Regions from separate parts of the Homo sapiens genome. Here region 1 is linked to region 2. Evidence: promoter capture Hi-C in 16 types of primary human blood cells and fetal thymus (Javierre and others, 2016). All regions are on one chromosome and are shown on one strand. The core of a region is centred on a gene start or on the middle of the fragment in contact, and the rest is flanking DNA. Distances in the headings are between cores, read along the strand shown.

What was found. Contacts are between HindIII fragments. The CHiCAGO score rates a contact against its expected background, and 5 or more counts as called.
Region 1: a contact is called between a fragment that was not itself captured here and the fragment with the promoter of SAAL1 in region 2, in 1 of 17 cell types (total B cells). The highest score is 5.3, in total B cells.

The regions. Positions count from the first base shown.
Region 1 is chr11:18,561,611-18,567,322 of GRCh38, forward strand. UEVLD (UEV and lactate/malate dehyrogenase domains) reads right to left here. Exons shown (of 12, transcript NM_001040697.4): 5 at 4,737-4,872; 6 at 3,282-3,400. Among named protein-coding and RNA genes, the nearest start is that of UEVLD, 24 kb to the right of the region's middle. The HindIII fragment of the contact is 339 bases long and covers 2,788-3,126 here.
Region 2 is chr11:18,101,961-18,107,642 of GRCh38, forward strand. It overlaps SAAL1 (serum amyloid A like 1), which reads right to left and starts at 4,122. Exons shown (of 12, transcript NM_138421.3): 1 at 3,947-4,122; 2 at 1,273-1,386. The coding sequence starts at 4,081. It also overlaps the pseudogene HIGD1AP5. RefSeq lists enhancers at 3,868-4,127, 4,278-4,327. The HindIII fragment of the contact is 5,763 bases long and covers 2,478-5,682 here.

The DNA of each region.
Region 1 (5,712 bases), core at 1,707-4,206, 460 kb after region 2:
GCGGGCAGATTGCCTGAGGTCAGGAGCTCAAGACCAGCCTGGCCAACATGGTGAAACCCCGTCTCTACTAAAAATACAAAAATTACCCAGGTGTGGTGACGGGTGCCTGTAATCTTAGGCTAAGGAAGGAGAATCACTTGAACCCAGGAGGCAGGAGGTTGCAGTGAGCTGAGATCACGCCACTGCAATCCAGCCTGGGGAACAGGGCGAGACTTCGTCTCAAAAAAAAAAAAAAAAAAGTTTGCGCCACTGCACTCCAGCCTGGGTGACTGAGCGAGACTCCATCTCAAGAAAAAAAAAAGAGTCAAGTGTTTAGACAAGTGCCTGGTACCTAATAAGCATTGTGTAAAGGTTAGTTGCTGCTGCTACCACCACTACTTTTGTTGCCACTATTATGAGTACTATCACTGTTGCAGTCATAATAGTGGCCTATGAATATTGTACTTTGTATCAAAATATTAACGTCTAAAAAGAAAAACAGAATTTTTTTTTGAGACAGGGTCTCACTGTGTCGCCCAGGCTAGAGTGCAACTGCACAATCGCAGCTCACTGCAGCCTCAACCTCCCAGGCTCAAGCAATCCTCAGCCACCCAAGTTGCTGGGACTACCAGTGTGCACCACCACACCTAGCTAATTTTTAATTTTTGTAGGGTGGAGGCAGTGGCTGACACCTGTAATCCCAGCACTTTGGGAGGCTGAGGCAGGCAGATCACCTGATGTCAAGAGCTCGAGACCAGCCTGGCCAACATAGCGAAACCCCCTCTCTACTAAAAATACAAAAATTAGCTGGGTGTAGTGGCACACGCCTGTAATCCCAGCTACTCGGGAGGCTGAGGTAGGAGAATCACTTGAACCCGGGAGATGGAGGTTGCAGTGAGCTGAGATCATGCTACTGCACTCCAGCCTGGGAGACACAGCGAGACTCCATCTCCAAAGAAAAAAAAAAAAATTTTTTTTGTAGAAATGGGGATCTCGCTGTGTCGCCCAGGCTGGTCTCAAACTCCTGGGCTCAACTGATTCTCCTGCCTTGGCCTCCCAAAGTGCTGGGAGTACAGGTGTAAGCCACCGGGCCCAGCTGAAAAACGGCAAATTTTCCACCCAGACAATTCACAGACAAATAATGACAGTGAGATTCTTCTAACAGTTTAAAAACATGGCCAGGAGCAGTGACTCATGCCTGTAATCCCAGCACTTTGGGAGGCCAAGGCAGGAAGATAGTCTGAACCAGGAGTTCAAGACCAATCTAGGCAACACAGGGAGACCTATCTCTACAAAAAAACTAAAAATTACCTAGGTGTAGTGGCACACCCCTGTGGTCCCAGCTACTCAGGAGGCTGAGGTGGGAAGATCTCTTAAGCCCAGGAGATAGAGACCGCAGTAAGCCATGATCATACCAGTGCATGCCAACTTGGGCTACAGAGAGAAACCTGGTCTCAAAAACAAAAATGAAAAACCATGACTTTCAGACTTTCAGATGCCTTCTTGTGCTTACCAAAAAAAAAAAAAGACAAATAATTACAAATAAATAAAACTTAGTACTGTTAGGGATGTCAAAAATCAGGTTGATGTGCATGTTATTAGCAGCATAAATTAGTTCTGCCTTTCCAAAGAGCAATCTGGCACTATGTCATAAGTGCTATAAAAACCATTCATGCCCTCTGACTCACTAGTACTATTTTTTAAAATTATGTACAACCAGGCCGGGTGCAGTGGGGCATGCTTGTACTCCCAGCACTTTGGGAGGCTGAGGCAGGAAGATTGCTTGAGCCCAGGAATTCAAGACCAGCCTGGGCAACATGGTGAAACTCTGTCTCTACAAAAAAATACAAGAATTAGTGGGGATGGTTGCTGGCGCCTGTAAGCCCAGCTACTTGGGAGGCTAAGGTGGGAGGATGGCTTGAGCTGGGGAGGTGGAGGGTGCAGTAAGCTGAGATTGCACCACTGCATTCCAGCCTGTGCAACAGAACATGACCCTGTCTAAATAAAATAAAATAATGTATGACCAAATAAAAATTCAGATGAGAAAACAAGCAACTTGAAATGTTTATAGAAGCATTTATTTAGTGACAAAAGACTGAATACAACTCAAATTCTAATTAAGAGGTAATAGCAGGCCAGGTACGGTGGCTCACACTTGTAATCCCAGCACTTTGGGAGGCCAGGGCAGGTGGATCACTTGAGGTCAGAAGTTCGAGACCAGCCTGGCCAACATGGCAAAACCCTGTCTCTGCTAAAAATACAAAAATTAGCTGGGCGTCGTGGCGCATGCCTGTAGTCCCAGCTACTCTGGAGGCTGAGGCAGGAGAATCGCTTGAACCCAGGAGGCGGAGGCTGTAGTGAGCCAAGATTGTACCACTACACTCCAGCCTGGGTAACAGAGCGAGACTCCACCTAAAAAAAAAAAAAAAAAAAAAGAGGTGATAGTGTATTCAAATGGAGGGTGAAAGAAATAAAACTACAGCATGCCAAAAGTTGGCATATTTAACTCTGAGCAGCCAGCTTTTAAGATATTCTAGCTCCATGGATATAATTTAATTATTTGCTGCAGTAGAACCCACCTCCAAGACATATGTGAGTCTTAAATGGAAAGGGAAGAATTTAGATGGCAAAACAATCAAATATATATAGAAAAGAAAAACTAATGCCAGCCACCAAATAAATATATAGAGGTACAGCTATTCTATTCAGGGCTACATCTCTCAAATGACAAAAGACATGCTGTTATCATGATACTAGGCTCTGGAGGGAGGCAGGCAGGTCTTTTGAACCTCTCTGGAAGGGCATTTAAGCTTTCCTGCAAACAATTTATGCAGACACTAGTAAAAAGGACTGATGAAAAAAACAAACCCTAAACTAGTATTAAATATCAACTCAGAAACTGTGATCCTAAAAGAAAGTAATTATGTAAGAAAAGGCCATCTTTAAAAAAAAAAAAGCCAATTTTAGAAAGAGCTAAAATTACTACATTAAATGAGTTTAATTAAAGTGGCATGATTCAGAAAATACAAAAGAATTTGTGATTAAGTCATATGAATGTCAAATTGAGCTTTCCCTTGGATGAGGATAAGCCCATTGTTCAAATCACTTTTTTAAACCTACTAATTAAAAGGCAACATCACTGATGAAAGCTTTCAACTTTTTTGTCAACTTACTAAATATATTTTAAGCCAAAATAAGGTTTTCCCACGACAAAATGAAGGCATTTTTTGGTGTGTAAAACACAACCTGCCTAGAAGTGTGGCACTATGATAGATGTATTTATAACCACTATGTTTACATACCTTTGCTGAAATTGCTAATGTGCAGGCAATACCGAGTTCTCCACCTCCAACCACAGTAATTTTATTGACTGTTTTATTCTCATGATTTGCCCAGCTCTTTGAATTTGTATCTGAAACACCTAGAAAGAAAGGTGAATTATCCTGAGAATTCAAAAATATCAAGAATTTTTTTAGGATCTTTAAAAAAAATATATAGCAGGCTTCATAGCTTAGAGAGAAAATATGGTGCTAGTCCATAATGGGCAAAAAATACTACTGAACAAATGAATGCAAGGAAGGCAGACGTTTCCTATTAAATAGTCGACTAAATAGAAATTATCCTTCTAAAGAGAATGTATCTTTCTAAACATTTTTAAAATATTGTATAAGACTCTAAAAAAGTAGGATTTCCATAATTCTGAAAAATATTCCAACTCATTGCTCTGGTCTACAATAAAAAAATATGTCTAACACCTTACCAAATGTTTCAAACATAGGTATTTGCCTTTATTCTTGATGAGAATCATAGATATTCTGATCCAATATATTGAATAAGCCAACAAGCCACATATACATATCATGAAAAAAAGTTTGGGATCATTAATATACAGCAAGTGGTTTTGAACAAGAATTGTTTTATCTGTTTAAGACCAATTCTTTACACTTTAAGAAACCTGGCCAGGCCCGGTGGCTCATGCCTGTAATCCCTGAACTTTGGGAAGCCAAGGCGGGAGGATCACCTGAGGTCAGGAGTTCAAAACCAGCCTGGCCAACATGGCAAAACCTCATTCTTATCAAAAATACAAAAATTGGCTGGGCATGCCTGTAGTCCCAGCAACATGGGAGGATGAAGCAGGGGAATCGCTTGAACCCAGGAGGCAGAGGTTGCATGAGCCCATATGGTACCACTGCACTCCAGCCTGGGTGACACAGCGAGACTCCATCTCAAAAAAATAAAAAAATAAATAATATTTATTGGAATTACATGGTAATACCCTGTGATAAAGGCAAAGGAATTACTTTTTTTTTCTTTTTTTTTTTTTTTTGAGATGGAGTCTTGCTCTGTTGCCCAGGCTGGAGTGCAGTTGTTCAATCTCAGCTCACTGCAACCTCTGCCTCCCGGATTCAAGCAATTTTCCCACCTCAGCCACCCAAGTAGCTGGGATTACAGGCACCTGCCACCACGCCCAGCTACTTTTTTTATTTTTAGTAGAGATAGGGTTTCACCATGTTGGCCAAGCTGGTCTCCAACTCCTGACCTCAGGTGATCTGCCTGCCTCAGCCTCCCAAAGTCCTGGGATTACAGGAGTGAGCCACTGCGCCTGGCCTGAGGCACAGGAATTTCTTATTTCAAAAACAGATGTACATACGCACACAAATTTATTTATAAAAATCAAGTGGCAGAAAGTAAAGGAGTTTAGTGAGAAACTGGTAACTCATAACTCTCAAGATAATCTGCCTGACAAATATACAAACCTTCAGTGATTTTTGCAATATAGGCTAGCAAGTCTACCTGCCGTGCCTCATCAGATGATGATAGAGAATACATGGGAAGTTCCTCTTGAAACTTGGCAATCATTTCTTTAATTAATCCAACAATGACAGATTTAGGCTGTAGAATACACAAAAAACAGAAAAGTTACACAAAAATTTTGCTGAAGAATACTACCTTTGTTGAGGCAGGAGTATTACTTGAGCCCAGGAGTTTCAGATGCAGTGAGTTATGGTTGCACCACTATACTCCAGCTTGGGCAACAGAATGAGACTTCATCTCCAAACAAAACAAACAAAAAATCTTTTTTAACCTATACATTCTTTTAGAGTTAGTCAAAAAGAAGCATTCAATCATGTTCTCATTTTTCAAAAATCATCATACACATTATATGATACTTTTAACTGTTGTAATGCTTTTCATGAAAAATTACTGAATACTTTTAACTGAAAAATAAAGGAAGAAGAAATGCTAATTCAACATTTCCCAAAAGTAGAAAAATAGCATGAATATGCTTAATAGCCGAATACCTAGGTTTAGGAACTCTCCTTTTTTTAACTTTTCATTTTGAAATAATTTCAGACTTACAGAAAAGTTGCAAAAATAGTACATATACTCTTCACCTAGATTACTCAAATGTTAACATTTGATCACATTTGCTTGTTTAGTCTTTCTCTCTCTAGTTTTTCTGAACAAACTGAACAAGTAAACTGCAAACATGATGTCCTTTTACCCCTAAGTACTTTAATGTATATTTCCTAAAAGAAAAAGACATTCTCCTTTTAACCGTTATCAAATCAGAAAATTAACACTAATAGTATCTAATCTGGTACTGTATTCTTTTAATGTAATTGGTTAAGCAACCTTGATGAAATTCACTAACCTTTCTGAGCTTCAGTGTCATCAGTAATACAAAGTGAATAATAAATCCCAAATGGTTGTTATGAGCAATAAATGAGT
Region 2 (5,682 bases), core at 2,872-5,371:
GAAAGCAGATCAGTGGTTGCCTGGAGGGGATGGAGGAATGGAGAGGCAAGAGGAAGAGACTACCAAGGACCATAAAGAAACTTTCAGGGGTGATGGGTATGCGCTGTATCCTGATTACAGTGACAGCTTAATCTGCGTACACATCCGTCAAAGTTTATTGGCTGGGTGCGGTGACTCACTCCTATAATCCCAGCACTTTGGGAGGCCGAGGAGGATGGATCATTTGAGGTCAGCAGTTCAAGACCAGCCTCGCCAACAGGGTAAAACCCTGTCTCCACTAAAAATATAAAAATTCGCAGGGATTGGTGGCTCACACCTGTACTCCCAGCTACTCTGGACGCTATGGCAGGAGAATCACTTGAGCCCTCGAGGCGGAGATTGCAGTGAGCTGAGATCGCACCACTGTACTCCAGCCTAGGTGATAGAGACTCCATCTCAAAAAAAAAAAAAAAATCAATGTCAATGATACTTCAAAACAATATGCAGTTTTTTGGTGTTAATTATACCTCAATAAAGTTTTAAATAAAATGACTGAAACAATGAATAGCCATTGACAATTTTTAAGAAAATGAGTACAATTAAGTCTGTATTTCCGGAAAAAAAGGTAACACGGGTGGCAATGTAGAGGACAGAAGGGAGGTGAAAGAGACTAAAACAAGGATTTTAATCAGGAAGCTATTGCTAAAGTCCAGGTAATAAAACAAGAAAGATTACATAGGTCATTTAATGTCTTTTGGCCTCTATTTTCTTAACTGTAAAATAAGGGTACTACCTACATCACAGGGTTATTGTGAAGATCAAATAGAATACTATATATGAAAATGCTTTTGAGCTATAGAATAAAATACAGATATTAAAACACTATGATTAATACTGCAATTACAGACATATAATTATTTATTGTCCTTTCCTTCTAATATTATCATGGTATATCAGTGGTCTTCTAACTCCTAACCTGCTGTCAAATATATGGCCAGAGCTCTCTTTAGGTAGGTAAGTATCAGAACTTTCCCGGCCTACATGTGTATAGGAATACATTCATAAGAGCTACGTATTTAGTCCGAATCTGTTGAGAGCTCAAATCCTCCAGCCTCAAAGACAGAAGTTTAGCATTTATAGCCCCTGGGATCTCATTCCCTATATCATATATGGGTGTGATTACAGACAGGAGATAAAGCCTTTCCCCAGAGTGAAGGACTGAACCGTTTTTAAAACATTCATTCACCATCTCCTCACCCAACAGTCTTCAGAGTTTTGTTTCCAGCCTCATACCTCATCCATTGACATATCCCATACTCTGCAAATTTCATTCTCCATTTCTTCATCAAGCTCCGTCAGCTGCTCCTCATCATCTGAGCTAGATTTGGTGTTTTCAGGGCTAACAATCTTCAGAAACACAAAGAAAGAAAACATGAATAAAAGTTGTCTACAATACTAACCAGGTACCCAAATACAGCAGGTGATCAAATAACATTTCCTCGTAACGCTGATGAGAAAAAAATTTGATTCCTGGCCAGGGCCACTGTCTGTGTGGAGTTTGCATGTTCTCCCCAAGAGTGCATGAGTCTGTTCCAGGTACTTTAGTTTCCTCCTACATCCCCCAAATTTGCACATTAGCACAACGGGTATCTAAATGGTCCCAATCTGAGTGAGTGTGGGTGTGTGTGTACCTGTGATGGGATGGCATCCTGTCCAGGGCTGGTTTCTGCCTTGCACCTTGAACTGCTGGTACAGGCTCCAGCCACCCTCAACCCTGAACCAGAGCAAGTGGGTTGGGAAATGGATGAATACAAATTATTATAAAACAAAAATCTGTAAAGAAGACAATAACCATAGAGATGCGTGACAATAATTATGTGGTAGGAAAGTGCTCAGTAAGCCTGCCTTATTTGTTATTGTTTTTGGACTGTACAGTAGTAAGAGGTGATCATTTTTGCTTTGTAAACATTTATTCCTTGATTTAACACAATCAAAGAATAAAGGTTGTAGTGATAATCACTACAACCACCATCACTCACTAACTCACCAAAACTGGGTGAATAATTATCTTGTTTTTATTAACCTTTCCTAAACGTATTATAGCTCACATTTATCTCAATGTTTAATATTAGAAGTGTTTTAGGTCCTCATTTAGAAGTTTGGTGATGTTCTTGTGTCCAGAAATATGCCACAGGGACTTAACTCTTGTTTATATCAATTAGCTATGGTAAAATTGGTTTCATTATCAGTAATTTTGCTTACAGTCACAATTTCCAAGAACCTACTGATGTTAAGTGAGCACTTACTTTAATATTAACCCATAATCGTTTAGAAGTCACAAAGAGGCTATCAGCAAAGTATCTTCTCTTGCAAAAATCTTCTTTTAAAAATGTAGTACCTTGGGTAGATCTACTCTTTCAACATTCACAAAGTAAATACTGTTGCTAGGCACTGGGGTAGATATACAAAGACAAGTAAGATATAATCCCTTACATTTAAGCTTTTTTTTTTTTTTAACTTTTAGGATCTAGTGGGGAAAGACATGTAAAGGGATAGTCATATTAGAAAAGGCAAAGTGATTCAACTGAATTGTGGACAAAGAGTTCTGGTAGCAAAAACGATGGACCAATGACCTATTCCTAGGAGAAGATGGGGAACCTTCCCTTAGGTGCTGATATTTAAGCTAAATTTTAAAGGAAGAATAGTAGTTTGTCATGTGAAGAAGGAGAGAAGTGAGTATTCAGAGGAAAGCACAAGAGTTCAGAGTTAAGAAAGGGCCTAGCATGTTTGGGGATGGTGAACAGTTCAGAGTTGATGGAACACAGTGTATCATGAGAAGATGAGGCTGGAAAATGTACAAACAGCCCTGGATTCCAAACTTCAAGAAACATGCATTTTTCTCCCAGGCAAAAAGAACTAAGAGCAGTATCATGAATAGCCCTGTCTTTAAAGAAGATTATTCTGGCAGCTGTGTAGAAAATTGACTGGAGAGGATAGACAATAGGAGGAGAGGAACCAATTAGGGAAACATGGGGGGAAGAAAACACATTTACTGACAGCCTCCTATAAGCCAAACACCATGCTAAGCACTCTGTTGCCATTATAATCTCACTTAACCTACACAATAACCTTATATATAATATAAATATTATAATCCCATTTTATAGAAATTAAGGGACAAATAGAGGTTCTGAGCCGTTAGGTGACCTGCAGCTAGTGGGTAAGGAAGCTGCGTTTTTTGTTTTTTTGAGACAGGGTCTTACTCCGTCCCCCAGCCTGGAGTGCAGAAGCTGGATCATAGCTCACTGCAGCCTCCAACTTCAGGCTCAAGCGATCCTCCAGCCTCAGCCTCCTGAGTCGCTGGGACTACAGGCGTGCACCGTCACGACCGGCTTTTTTTTTTTTTTTTTTTTAAGTTTGTAGAAACCAGGTCTATGTTGCCCAGGCTGGTCTCAAACTCCTGGCTCAAGCGATCCTTCCGCCTCGGCCTCCCAAAGTGTTGGGATTACAGAGGTGAGCCACCGCGCCTGGTCAGAAGCCACGTTTTTAATATAAAAGTTGTATAACCCTAAAGTCACCATTTATTCTATTACAACGATAGTCCATGAAATACATAAATTAAGGACCTGGGCTTCAGAAATGACAGTGGGGATGGGGAGCAAAACCCGAGGAATGCAGTTACACGATCATGTATTTTTGGAGAACTTGGGAAAGCAAAATAGAACGGCAAGTATTTCAGCATCCCTACCATTATACTTCCCTTTGTGTCGAGAGACCCCGAGGGGGCCCAGATAGTTTTGGGGTCCGCAGCGGCCGGCGAAACGCAAGGAGCAAGGTCCCGCAGCGCACGCCTGGGGAGGGGTCTTTGTGGGGATGGCGGCTCCCGGGGCAGGAGGATTCGCCAGAGGCGGAGCCCCGGTGCCTGGGGGATGTAGGGACACCCCACGCGTGGCGCGAGTTTCCACACCTGGATGAGTCCGCTGAGGACGCCGAAGAGCCAGTGTTTGCTGTAGACCGTGCTCCCTATGCAGTCTCCACCGGCCACCTCCTCCTCCTCCTCCTTGTCGCGACCCGGCGGCGGCGGCGAGGGGTTGCGGTCCATGACTTTGTCGCGTCCCGCGCTTGAAGGCCGTGCCGGAAGCTGCGGAGGAGACGACCGGCGCCCTAGTGCCAGAGCGCCCGGCGTACCCGGTGGGACTCCCCCTACAGCGCCATCTGCTGTTCGGAGCCTGGCCAGCTGCCAAGGCGGCTTGACCTCCCCCACCCCATCCTATCGAGGACCCTGGCACGAACATACTCATAATTATTTGTCACCCTCACTGAATCAGGTGTTCCATTTCTCCAGGAGCTCTTAGACTGATTGAAGAAGGAAGGGTGGGGAGCAGTGAGGAAGCCTCAGGAACAGATGTGAATCTCAAAGCTAGCGGACTTATTCTATTCGCCTTCTGATCTATGTTGCCCAGGCTGGTCTCGAACTTCTGGCTCAAGCAATCCTTCTGCCTCGGCCTCCCAAAGTGTTGGGATTACAAACGTGAGCCACCGCGCCTGGTCAGAAGCCACTTTTTTTATATAAAAGTTGTATAACCCTAATAATATAATCCTCTGATCTCTGGCCACTGTTGCCATTCCTAAAAATATCCGTAGGGGAAGCTGGATGGCTTGTGAGGGATTCCAGGGATCCAAAGTGATTCGAAAAACTAAAGAGGCACCATTTGTCCCCATTGGAATGGCAGGTTTTGCAGTAGTTGCTGCATACGGATTATACAAATTGAAAAGCAGGGGAAATACTAAAATATCACGTCACCTGATCCACATGCGTGTGGCAGTCCAGCTTTGTTGTAGGAGCAATGACTGTTGGTATGGGCTATTCCATGTATCCGGATTTCTATGCAAAACTTAAACCTTAGAAGAAGAGATGTTGTCTTTGTCTTGTTGGAGGAGCTTGACTCATTAATGAGTCATCTCATTATTGAAGTTACATGTTTATGTTGAACATAAATTATTTGGGTAGGTTCAGATGATACTACGGTATTTTGAATAGTCGCTTCCTTTCGTGTAGGCTTGATTTGCCTGGTGACCAAATTATTAGTGACTAGTTCACTAACTAGATCATTCCGGGGAGCCAAGTTAACACACAAGAAACACGTCACCTAAATGCGCTTGATGGTGTTAAAATGTCCAACTTCTTAAACTGTTAAGATGAAATTAATACTAAGGAAGATAGCAGGCCAATCCTGAAGTACTCCCAGTTTGCTGCAGAATCTTGCATGTTTCGAATGTTAAGAGTCCAATTTACTCCAGTTAATTTAACTTTTTTTCTGTCTGTCTTGTGGACTGGTTGGCTCTTTTAGAACTCTTTAAAAAAAAGTGCATGAAATATAACTTGTAAAGCCTCCTACAACTGACAGTATTGTGTGCGTGTGTTTAAACCGAATCTAGAAACCTTACAACAGACCTGCATAGTATTAGTATTGATTAAAGAACCACAATTGTAAACATGAGAAAACCTTAATTATGGATTTCAGTTTAGCACTTTTGTAATTGCAGAATTACATTTTTGCTGCTGTTATATTAGAAGAATTTTTCAGTGTCATCTTGAAATAGAAATGTGTATTTTAAGCACCCATGCAAAGGTAAATGAAAAACACTTCTTTCTCCATAAGAATCGTAAACATTAAACTAAAAAAATTACCTATGATGGAA